2 separate regions of the Homo sapiens genome follow, and region 1 is linked to region 2. Evidence: promoter capture Hi-C in 16 types of primary human blood cells and fetal thymus (Javierre and others, 2016). All regions are on one chromosome and are shown on one strand. Each heading gives the region's core, a stretch centred on a gene start or on the middle of the fragment in contact. The rest is flanking DNA. Distances are from core to core; before and after follow the strand shown. Region 1 overlaps ATP13A4 (ATPase 13A4). Region 2 holds the start of MB21D2 (Mab-21 domain containing 2).

What was found. Contacts are between HindIII fragments. The CHiCAGO score rates a contact against its expected background, and 5 or more counts as called.
Region 1: a contact is called between a fragment that was not itself captured here and the fragment with the promoter of MB21D2 in region 2, in 1 of 17 cell types (monocytes). The highest score is 5.1, in monocytes.

The regions. Positions count from the first base shown.
Region 1 is chr3:193,485,502-193,491,627 of GRCh38, reverse strand. It overlaps ATP13A4 (ATPase 13A4), which reads left to right. Exons shown (of 30, transcript NM_032279.4): 6 at 230-299; 7 at 1,764-1,898. Among named protein-coding and RNA genes, the nearest start is that of ATP13A4-AS1, 65 kb to the left of the region's middle. The HindIII fragment of the contact is 4,520 bases long and covers 870-5,389 here.
Region 2 is chr3:192,916,218-192,922,433 of GRCh38, reverse strand. MB21D2 (Mab-21 domain containing 2) reads left to right here and starts at 4,578. Exons shown (of 2, transcript NM_178496.4): 1 at 4,578-4,804. The coding sequence starts at 4,594. RefSeq lists a silencer at 4,273-4,632 and an enhancer at 5,283-5,612. The HindIII fragment of the contact is 3,892 bases long and covers 2,814-6,216 here.

The DNA of each region.
Region 1 (6,126 bases), core at 1,880-4,379, 570 kb before region 2:
GGAAAGAGTATGCTTCTAGAAGCAATATGGTCATATTTATCGTTTTTGCAACTGGGAACCCTCACCTCCCATTATTTTGAGAAGGATCAGAATGGTATTTAACAAGGGAGACTTATGTTGGTCTCACAAGTGAGAAAGTGAACATGGAATAGACCTTTTTCTGAATAGGTGAGGAGTCAGTTTTAATTTTATTATTTGTGACAGAGTGATCTGTGATTTCTTTCTATAGGAGGTTAATATGTGGGCCTAATACTATCGATGTTGAAGTTACACCAATTTGGAAACTGCTCATCAAGGAGGTAATTTCTCCAGCATTTTCTCTTGGTGTTGGACAGAAAATAAGGAAGTTTGGCTCTAGTGAAATAATCAGGAGTGCTAATTGTTAATAAGTAACTTCACATAGAGTATATTTTGAAAGTATGCCAAGCATATTATCCTCATATCTCTTGCTTACTCTTTTTCTTCAAGTGGTTCTTTTGCACATTGCCTTATGCAATATAGGGTGTGAAACTCATTGTACTTATTTACCATTTAATGGCTGGATGAATATAATGTTTCTTTTCTTTTTTAATACTATGCTGCTTAACTTGTTTTAACTTCATGAAACTCAATTTTTTTTAAGCTAATCCTTTTGTTAGGTAACAGATACAATTTCCTTGGTGCCTAAAATTGTAGGAAGAAAAAAACCATTTATTCAGCCTTCTCAGTACTGCTGATCTCAAGGTATAAGATGAAATTTTCCTTTTGGACCCCATCACTGAGCTCATCATTGTTTCACTTTACAGCGATTATTATCAAACCGTAGCCCTCTAGCTGTCCTCTGGCTTCCCTGTGCTCTCTCTCGACTCCTCCTTGCCTTAAAACAAGCTTACTAAACTTCAGGTACTTTCAAAATATTTCCAACAAGCCGTCAAGCATGAAAGAAAGTAAAACAAACCAATAGGGAATGTTTCTGTGTGCTGCCTTTCTAACCAGAAGAAAGGTTTGCCATTCCTGTTTTAGAGAGAGGGAAACCAGCTAGGGGGAATTTAAGTAAAGGCACAGCATGTTTTTGACCAAAGCAGAATTAAAGCTGTTGAAGTTCACAGCTACTCTCTCGCACAGTGTTCTAGATGCTCTATTACAGCTTACTGCTTTCAGCACAGCTCTCTACTTATGAGAACATGCAGTCTTCAACTCACCCATTAATCAAGTTCCTTAATGACTTCAAATATGGCAGGTGTTATATCATAGAGAAGAAGAGACTAGAAAGTATTTTAACTTTATAAACCTGAACTAATACTTCACCTTTCTGAAGGCCAGTAAATGTAGACAGGAGGTGACAACATCTACTCCTTAAATAACTATTGTGATGGCCGACATGTCAATACATGAGACACTACTTTGTAAATTATAAAGTGAGGCAGTGATTAAAAGTAAGTGCTCTGGGGTCAGATTGCCTGTGTTTAAGTCTTGGGTCTGTGGCAATCATAGTCGCATGACTTTGGACGTATTTCTCAAGCTCTAAGTTTCAGTTTCTTTATCATTACAAAGGAGATAAGTAACAACTTCTGGTTAATAAGGTAACTGTGGGAATTCAATGAGAAAATTCAAGTAAAGTTGCTTAGAGCGGTGTCTGGCACGTGTCAATTGCCGAATAAATATAATAAGAATATTGTGTGGGATGATGTATGTCATGAAGATGATTATGAAAACAAGTAAATGAAGAGCAGAGTGAAGCCTAAAACTCTCCCTTGTCTTCCTGTTTTTATGTCTGCCAACAGGTTCTAAATCCATTTTATATATTTCAACTCTTCAGTGTCTGTTTGTGGTTTAGTGAAGACTATAAGGAATATGCTTTTGCCATCATAATCATGTCCATAATTTCCATATCTTTGACAGTATATGATCTCAGAGAGGTGAGTTTTTCTATTAATTCTATGGTTTCATAAAGGGAAGGATAATGACTTTATTAAAAATTTGTTAGAAAGGAGAATCAGGAAATAGTCACTTCCTACTCCGTAGTAAATGAGAGCAAGTTTGTAAATACCTAGCACAGTAACCAGTGTTCAACAATTTAGTCCTTTCCCTTTCCTCCCATTCCAATCCCTAACCTTTGTAGTTATTTTTCCTCCCTCTTTAATTTACTCAAGACTAATTAGCCAGAACAACATCCAAAGGTTTATGAATTGTGAATATGTGAAAAAATTTATGTAGAGAATACTGATGGGACTTGAGGATGGTGGCAGAGAGCTGGAAGGTGGAGGAGTCTATTTAATATGAACTCCTTTGCTGTTTATGTTTGGCTGGTACTCATTTGTCAAGGCCCCAGTCCAACTCCTGACTTTCTTTATGCCTACACCAGGTTTCTAGATACTGTTGGAAAAAAAAAATTACATAGAACAGATTGGTTGGTTGCACTATAAATCCGTGAATGCCAACCTCATCCGGACAAGGCTTCTGTTCATCTCTAATCAAGGTGCTCTTCTGTTCTCTGAAATTAAGGTTTCAAGCCATCTCTGTCCTCTGGTGTCTGAGACGCCCATCTTCTCATATTCCACTCTTTCTTTAATTCAGCAGATATCACTATTTCACAAAAAAAGATGGAAGCCATAAGACAGAAAATTGCCCAACTCCCCACTTTCCGAGTGCCAAATGACTCATCTCCGCAGCCCCCTCCTTCCCTGAACTCTCATTCCAGTGAAGGAAGTGCCCTTCGCCAGTGCTTGAGAGACCATCCACTCCCACCTTCCTGGGGTGCTTGTGCAGTCCATGAATGACTCCTCTCTTCTCTCCTCAAGAGCCTTCCCATCAACTTTTAACATTCTCAAGTTCTCCCAACTTAAAAACAAAACTCAAACAAACAAAACAATTTCTTCTCTTGACCGTGCTTCTGCCTTCAGCTACTACTATATCACTCTTCTTCCATTCACAGTAAAACTTCTAGAGTCTTTGTGTCTGTTATCATTACTTACTCATCTTCCTCTTACTTTTCACTCATGCCGACATGTCTTCCTCCCTCATGACTCCATTTAAACAAATCTTGTTAAGGTTGCCACTGTGATCCCAAAGCCCATAGATCATTTTAAAATTTAAAAAGTTCTTTTAAAATTAGCTGTTTTTTTCCTTAACAGAAAGGGCAATATATGGCTATGATAAAAATAAAATTCAAACCGAACAAAAGAGTGTGAATAAAAATTAAGGCTCCCTCCCGCTGGGAAAACTTCCCAGTGTTCAGGTCCTGTTTCAAGATACATCCACTAGGACCATATTTTCTGTATACTTTTAGTTATATTAAATGCATATGCATTAATTTGTTTAACAGAATGAATATATTCTATGTGTACTGTTCTGCACTTGAATTTTATTTATTTATTTATTTTTGAGATGGAGTTTTGCTTTTGTCACCCAGACTGGAGTGCAATGGTGTGATCTTGGCTCACTGCAACCTCTGCCTCCTAGGTTCAAGCAATTCTCCTGCCTCAGCCGCCTAAGTAGCTGGGATTACAGGCATGTGCCACCACACCCGGCTAATTTTTGTATTTTTAGTCGAGACGGTGTTTCACCATGTTGGTCTGGATGGTGTTGATCTCCTGACCTCCAGTGATCCACCCACCTCAGCCTCCCAAAGTGCTGGGATTACAGGCGTGAGCCACCGTGCCCAGCCTCCACTTGAACTTGAACCTATTATATCCTAAATATCTTTCTGCATCTGCACAAATACATTTTCTCTAGATGTACCGTAATTTTTAACCAGTCCAATGTTGATATGTATTTGGTTGTTTCTAGTCTTTTGCTACTAAGACAATGCTGCAAGAACATCCTTGCACATATATCTTTTCATGCATCTATATATACATATACATATGCACACATATTACATACCTATACATATGTATATAACAAGTATGTATGCTTATAAATATCTGTATTGATATAGAGATAGAAAATTTCTGCAATTGAAATTACCTAGTCATAAGCTAGGCACACTATTTTAAACATATTGTCAAAATGCCTCTTTAAAAAGTAATACTGGCCAGGTGTGGAGGCTCACACCTGTAATCCCAGAATTTTGGGAGGCTGAAGTGGCAGGATAGCTTAGACCCAGCAGTTCAAACCAGCCTGAGCAACATAGTGAGACCTCGTCTCTCTATGTATATAAAAAAGTAATACCAGTTTACATTCCTTACAACAGTAGATAAGTGTTTTTCTTATCTTTGCCAATATAAGTGAAAATAGAATTCAGTAACTCTAATCACGTTTTCCATTACGAGTTGAGCATTTCTTCACACTTTAAGCCATTTGCATTTCTTTGACTGGGAACTGTTTGAGTCCTTTATTAATTTTTATTAGGTCTTGGTGTTTTGCTTACTAATGTTATGGTCCCCCTGCAGTGGATATTTTTTTTTCCCCAGTACCGATATCGCTAAACCTCTCAGTTGGATTTGACACGGTTAACTGCTCCATTCTTTCTGAAGCACTCTTTTCCCTGGCTTCAGGGACAACACACTCTCCATCCTCTCCAGTTGCTCTTTTCCGTTCTCTTTTGATAGCTCATCCTTCTCTATCTGACTTTTAAAAAATGAGTGTTCCAAAGTCAAAACAACATGAAAATGCATTTAATGTAAAGGCTCCATTTTTCTCTCCCACTCCACTTGGCCGACTGCTTACATTAGTTTCTTGTGTAATCTTCCAAAAAAGTTTTTAGGCAAATGAAGCAAATATATGTACTTTCTTTTTTTCTTATGTAAGTGGTAGCATAATTACATTATTTTCTAACTTGCTATTTAAAAAATTACTATTAATATATCTTGAGGATCTTTTCATGTAAGTGCATAAAAGATTCTTCATTATTTTTATAGCTGTACATGCCAATGACTTCTAAAGGCATATGCTAATAGCTTTCAAATTTGTATATGTATCTCAAATCCAGATACCTCTTTTCAGTTGCAGACTCATAGCTTCAACAACCTATTTGATATCCCCACCTTAATATCAAAAAATTACCTTAAATTCAACACTTTTGACATAAAACTCAAGAACTCTTCTCCTCAAATCTGCACTTAGGTTTATCTGATGTGGTAGCAGATACTGCTGACCATTCTGTTGCACAAGCCAGAAATCTGGTTGCCAACCTTGAAACTTTCTCTCTTCTTCCCCTTCAACTACACAGAAAGTCCTTTGATTTTTATTTCCTAAATATCCCCTGGCATCCTTCACTGTTTTCCACCCTACCACTATTACGGTTCAAGTTAGCATAATTTTCTACCTTGCAATCACCTCCCATCTGGCCTCCATACATCATTCTTGCAGAATATGATTATTTACATGCTTTTATCACTAAAATGCTTCAAAATATTCCCATTGGTCTTACAATAAACTTCTAAATCTCATCGCAGACTTTAAAGCTTTCCCTGGAGGTTCACAAACTTTTTAGTTTCTAGAGCTCTTTAAACTCTTAAAAATCACTGAGGATCTCTAAGAGTTTTTAATCTTTTAAACATTTGGTATTTACCAAATTAAGAATTAAAACTCAGAATCATAAAATATTTATTAATTAATTTAAAATAATAATAACATATTTATATATACATATATATTTAAAGACAACTGTATTTTCTGAAATAAAAATAATTTAGCAGGAGAATGGCATTATTTTACATTTTTGCAATCTCTTTTATGTTTGGTTTAATAGAAGACAATTGGATTTTCTTTTTTTTTTTTGGCTTATAAGCAACAGAATTTATTTCTTTAGTTATGGAGGCTGGAAAGTTCAAGATCAAGACACCAGCAGATTCAGTGTCTGGTGAGATCTCTCTTCTGGGTTCAGAGATGGTACCTTCCTATTGCATCCTCACATGGTGAAAGAGACAAGGCGTCTCTCCTGGGTCTCTTCTATAAGGGCACTGAAATTATTCATGACCTAATCACCTTTCAAAGGCCCCTTCTCCTAATATCATCATCTTGGGGGCTAGGATTTCAACATAGGAATTTTGGGTCACATTCAGACTGTGGCAGTCTTTTAAAAAATTTCTATGTCAATTGATTTTAATACTTTGATAATCGTATTTCTTTTTTTATTTCCGACAATTGGATTTTCATAACTGCTTCTGCATTTAGTCTCTTGTGATATTAAACACCACTCAG
Region 2 (6,216 bases), core at 3,329-5,828:
TAAGGGGGGTAGATGGAATTTATCATCTAAGTTCCTTCTACTGTCAACATTCCACACGTCTGTGATGTTTGCCTCTCTTTTTCCTGCCTGCATTTCAAATCATAAAAAACCCAGGCCACTTCCATTTGTTAGACTTTTATTGAAAATCCAGCTGCCCAAGAAGGCCAGATCTTGTAGCCTAGGCTGCTATTTAAATCTCCCTCAGACCAGAGAATCTTTGTTTAAAATTATATTTTGTTAATCCATCATGTGGATGTGGAGCTTGCTATTTTTAATGCAGGCTCTGCACAGCCCAGTTATTCATGGCTGAGAGTTTGCCACAGAACTTCAGAGCTGTATTTAACAACAAACAGCTCCAGAGAAGCAAGATGAAGACTTCTTTCACATGCTAATAAAATTTGGGAGTTGGGAGTAGAAGGGCAAGTTCTACCTCTAAGTGTGACAGCAGTTTGGAAATGCAGGCTGTTACTCTGTTCTGTTTGATGCTGCAAGAGCCAGCAAAGGAAAAGCCTACCTTAGTGCTTGTTTAGATGGTAGACTCCACTGACCTTTGTCCATCTGTCAAAATTCTAGAGATATGCATTTTTATTCAAGCCTCAGACACTCTTTAACATCTTCTAATAATGATTTTCTCTCTCTCTCCACCTTCCTCTCTATCTCTCTTCCTTCTCTTAGGTCATATAACATACACAGGGAGAAAAAGGCATAAAAATTGGGGCATTTAATTAAATGCATGCAGAAATACTTACATTTATAACAACACTTAACTAAATACTGGGAAACCATAGATAGCTTACATTGAGATATTTAAATTGTAGCAAAAATCACCTAAATTCTGACTTCTTGGACTTTGAGGGATGGTATTAGTTCATTCTTTTTTATTATTATTTTTTCTGAGAAGGAGTCTCCCTCTGTTGCCCAGGCTGGAGTGCAGTGGTGCAACCTCGGCTCACCATAACTTCCACCTCCCGGGTTCAAGCGATTCTCCTGCCTCAGCCTCTCAACTAGCTGGGACTACAGGTGCATGCCACCATGCCTAGCTAATTTTTGAATTTTTAGTAGAGATGGGGTTTCACTATGTTGGCCAGGCTGGTCTTGAACTCCTGACCTTGTGATCTGCCCGCCTTGGCCTCCTAAAGTGCTGGGATTACAGGTGTGAGTCATCGTGCCCGGCTTCATTCATTCTTTTATATATTCATTTGAACATATAAACTAAGGTCATAAGATGGGTCAAGAACTAAATTAAATGCAGTGTTTACACAGGTGAAGAAACACAGTACTTGCCCTTGAGAAGCTCAGAGGTTAAAAAGTCTCCCAATAGATCAATTCAGGAAATTATGGTTTTTGATCGTTTTTCTCTATTCTTCTAATTCAACAAGGGATATTGACACAATCTTATCAGCGTTCTATTAGAGCCTAGGAAGGTGTTAGTTTACCATCCAATTACATTATCTGGATATGCGGGCTCACTGAGGGTCCATGATTCATAGAAATCTGATCTGGCTGACGGGAAGGAGAACAGACAATGAGGAACATCAGAGAGACCACTCACTCATTCAAACCCCCAGGGTCCAGCACTACGGCACAACAGGAATACTTTCTGCTAACAACCTGTTGTTTCTTTATGGATATAAATATCATAAGAAAAGGTAAAATTAAGGGAAGATTAGTGATGCCTCATTCATATGTTTGGAAATTAACAAATAAAAAGTGTTTCGATTTTGTTGTCTGAAGTATTTCTTAACTGTACATGGTTTGGAGGTAACTAGAACCATTCTGCTCTATGGAATGACTGCCTCAGCCAGCTGTCGCACAGGTGCCTGCCATTGATCACTAGTGAAGCACTGACAGATGGGAGTGGATCACTTTGTGCTGGAGTTCCAAACACTTATGTGGCTTCTAGTACTGCCCAGGTAATGTTAATATCCTCTCAGGATGAGAAGTCAGGGCAGCATAGCAGAGCTGCGAAAGCCAGAGCTTGCTTTGTTTGTTTGTTTGTTTGTTTGTTTGGAGATGGAGTCTCACTCTGTCACCCAGGGTGGAGTACAGTGGCGCGATCTCGGCTCACTGCAACTTCCGCCTCCTGGGTTCAAGCAATTCTCCTGCCTCAGCCTCCCAAGTAGCTGGGACTACAGGTGCACGCCGCCACAACTGGCTAATTTTTTGTATGTTTAGTAGAGATGGGATTTCATCGTGTTACCCAGGCTGGTCTCGAACTCCTGAGCTCAGGCAATCTGCCCGCCTCGGCCTCCAAAGTACTGGGATTAGAGGCGTGAACCACCACGCCCTGCCTAAAAACCAGAGTTTTTAAGTCACTTCCTCATCAGTCCACCAGCATTTATCTAGGCATGGATCCTCTCTCTTTCATACTGAGTGGGTGAGGAAGTGTGTTTCAAAGAGAAGGAAACGAAAAGTAAGAGAAATTAACTGGTTATGCCACAATTCTTCACTCATTACTTGATTCAATAAACATAGAGGACCCTTCGGTAGGACCATATGCTGCAGGAAATACAAAGATGAATAAGATGTAGCCCTCATCCCCAAGAATCTTTTAGTCTAAAACTTGCATTAACAATGATGAAGTGGTCAGGTGTGGTGGCTCACGCCTGTAATCCCTTTGAGAGATCTAGATGCAAGGACTGTTTAATCCCAGGAGGTTGAGGTTGCTGTGAGCCACGATTGTGCCACTGCACTCTGGCCTGGGCTACAGAGGAAGACCCTGTTTCAGAAACAAACAAACACACACACACACAACCCAAAACAAAAAGCAATGATGAAGCAAGGTCAAAATTCATTAGCATCATATGAAAGCTTCTGAGAGTAGGTTCTGAGGAAGGAAAAGTTGCCACCAGCTTGAGGGGAGGGTCTCCGGAAAGCTGTAAGAAAAAGGCAGACGCGGATTGGTTTTGGTGTAAACGGAGTAAAGAAGAGAGGAATTCCAGGGGGAGGTCAGTGGTCAGGTCTGTGTTTTCTAAAGATCACTCTGGCAACAAGTTGTTACTAGATTGAGGAACAGTGAAAGAATTAATAACAATAATAGTAGAAGCTGATAATAGCTAAGTACTTATTATGTCAGTCCTTGAACTAAGTGCTTGACCTGTTTTATCTCACGTAATCCTTAAAACAACCTGTGAGACAGGAATTATTATTCCCATTTTATAGGGGAAGGCATGGAAGAGTCCGTACTTCCTTCCATGTCTAACAAAACAATTTGTATTCTTGGCCATGAGAACTCGGGTAAGAAAGTGAAACAGACCTGATCTAAATCAGGGACTGTGGGATAGAGAAGAGAGATTTTGGAGAATTAGGGAGGAAGATAACCTATGTTTCTCACAGCCAATGGGCCTCCTAAGTGTTTGAATGATACACCCCATAAACACTAAAACCACCTCTGAGACTCTATTCTGCCTAAAGGACTATGACTTAGATTGAACCTGCCTTGTCATGTAAGCCTAACTCCATGGTAGGAGCCATGTCTTTTGGTTATCACTGTCACATTCTGTCACTCCATCTGGCAAATGGTGCGTACTCAAATTTTATCTGTTGAATGAGAAAATTTTCATCTTGTCATCCAACATTTCTTGGAACCTGGGGCAATACATTGTTTCCCCTCTCCCACACCCACACTTCAGTTTCCCTATCTTTATATTAGAGTAGGTTGAATCTCATTAACTCATTATATGTTAAGATAAATAAGCTGTTATTCAGGTCATTAATTACCTTGGGCAAAGGTAGGGATATCTAGGGGTTAGTGGGAGTGCCAATACTGGGTTAGATGTGGACCCTCTTTTTTTATACGCTCAATCCTATCATCTTGGCAATCCAAGAGGAAAAGGGTAGAAGACAGGTTTCATATTCCTTAAGGCAGTTTCCTTTACTATTTAAAGGTATTGGAGTTCTTGGGATAGAGAGGTAAACGCGCACAGAGATGTCCTCCCCCAGGACACCGCCCTTAAAATCAAACGGAGGAAGACTTTCTTCTCCTTGAATGCGCTTGGCAAACCCTGCCCAGAAAGGGGATGGGGGGACGGCCGTGGAGGTGGAGAAAGAATGCATCCACACCTCGCGCGTCTTCCCAAGTACGGATTGGCAAGTGGTATATGCGTGCAGACCTCTGTCATTTATTTATTTTCCTTTCCACTGGGTGCGCTGTCCCTTTAAATGGAGACGCTGGTGCTGGCTCCGTAACACCGGAGCCGGCAGCTTGTTGATTTCAGAGCTGGTGAATTTCACATTGTTTCCACTTCACTTTCCTCGCCCGGGGGAGGCTCCAGTTGGCTCTACGACCGCCGTTGCCGCTGCCAGAGAGGGCCAGGGCAGGGCAGGGACGCGCAGCATCGGGGCGGGCGTGGGGCCGGAGAAAAGGGTGTCGGGGCCACACACGCACCCTCGCTGCAGTCCAGCTCCTCCCGAAGCTCGCACGCCCAGAGCGCACGGAGCGGGGGACTGCCCGCCCAGACGCCCGCCCGCCAACCCGCCCACGAGCCGGGGCCAAAGCCTGGGAGCCTGCGAGGGGAGGAGGCCCAGGGGGGCGGGGTGGGGGGCGGGGGTGGGTGCCGCGCTGCCGCGGAGCTGCTACTCGGCGCGTTTTGCATGAAGATGGCGGCTCCCACCGCCAACAAGGCAGCCTCCCTGGGCTGTAACAACAAGCCTGCGTTCCCGGAGCTGGATTTCAGGTCGGGAGCTCGGGTGGAGGAATTGAACAAACTCATCCAAGAATTTACGAAGCACGACCAGCGGGAATACGACGACCAGAGAGCGCTGGAGATTCACACAGCCAAGGATTTCATCTTTTCCATGCTGGGTAAGGAGGAAAAAGGGGGAGGTGTGTGTGCGTGTGTGTGTGTGATGGGAAGCGGAGTAGAAAACCCATTGCCGCTTCTCGACCTCTTCCCTTCTGGGTTGCCTTCCCGAGCCGGTGCCTTGGGTATAAGCCATCTCTGTTCCGCCTCTCTCTTCTTTCTCCGCCGAAAGCCGAGCTGCCTGCCCTCCCCTCCTTACTATACTTTACGCCGGGTCTCCCTTTCCCCCTGTTCGCTTGCTCTTTTGTTAATTTCTCCGCCACCTGGGGCTGGCAGGCAGGTGAGGCGTTCGCGGTGAAGCGTTGCACTGTTGGGGGAAGCCCCTGGAAGCGAGTGCAGTCCAGGTGAGCCCCTGAGGTGCCTTCAGTTGAGGGATTTGGCTGCCGGAGGCAGGGACCTCCGCTTTCCCGACGCCGGCTCTTGGGTGCTCTCCCGAGCTTGGGAGCGGAGACGGCTCAGGGCTCTGGCTTGGCGCCCGAGCGACAAGTTGCTTCTGTCGTCTCGCGGCGCGGCGCTGTCATGCCGAGCCCCCGGTGGCCAAACTTGTTGGGTGTTCCCGAGTAACCCGCTGAAGTAGTCTAGGCGTCCGGAGTTCCTGCAACTTTGATTTGCAAATTGACTTCTCTTATGAAGCGATCGGAAGCATTTCCGGTGCTTCTTCAGGGCTCTCGCTGAGCTCGGAATTCTTAATTCCCAGCTCTTCCGTGACTAGGCGCGGAGCTCTGGCCGCAGAGGAGCGCCGGTTCCCTGCTCTTTGTGTATTGTCTTAGCGCTGGCCGAAAGAGGTGCCCAGAGTTTCCAACCGCGGAGACGTCGGGGGCTAGAAAATGTGTCCCCCACTCCCACCTCCAGCCCCTCACCTACGGCTCCTGAAACATGATTGAATGCTGTGTAAAGGAACATAATTGAGCCAGGCCCGGGAGACCGAGCCCACCCTCCCCAGGTGTCCTGCCGTTGGGATTATTGCTACTGAGGTGTAGTGTGAGTTTGCCAGGCGCCTGGGTTGTAACTTGCGGCTCCGCCAGCGGATCCGTGGCTGTCAAGCGGTGCGTGGCCGGCGGTCAACATTCCGAAGAACTGGTACTCCAGGGTAGCGCTGCTCTAACGCTCGTCTCTGGGTGCTCTCTACAAATAGATAAGCCAATTTTCCAGGTGTTGAAAAATTTGATTGGGAAAGGTCTTTTGGCCACAGACTAAGACAGGGCTTTTCTCTTTCTCCTGCAATCTAATTGGGTTTCAGCCGGCTGTTGCTGCTTCTATCCTGGGATACCTTCTTCCTTCTAGGTTTTCTTCTTCCTCACTGCCCAAGGACGGGGTAATACAGACTGAACGTGTCTGTGTCCGCTGGTAGTTGTTCACGCGTTGGGAAGTTAGATGAAACATGTTAAAACTCTAGGCTGGTTTTTACCTTTTG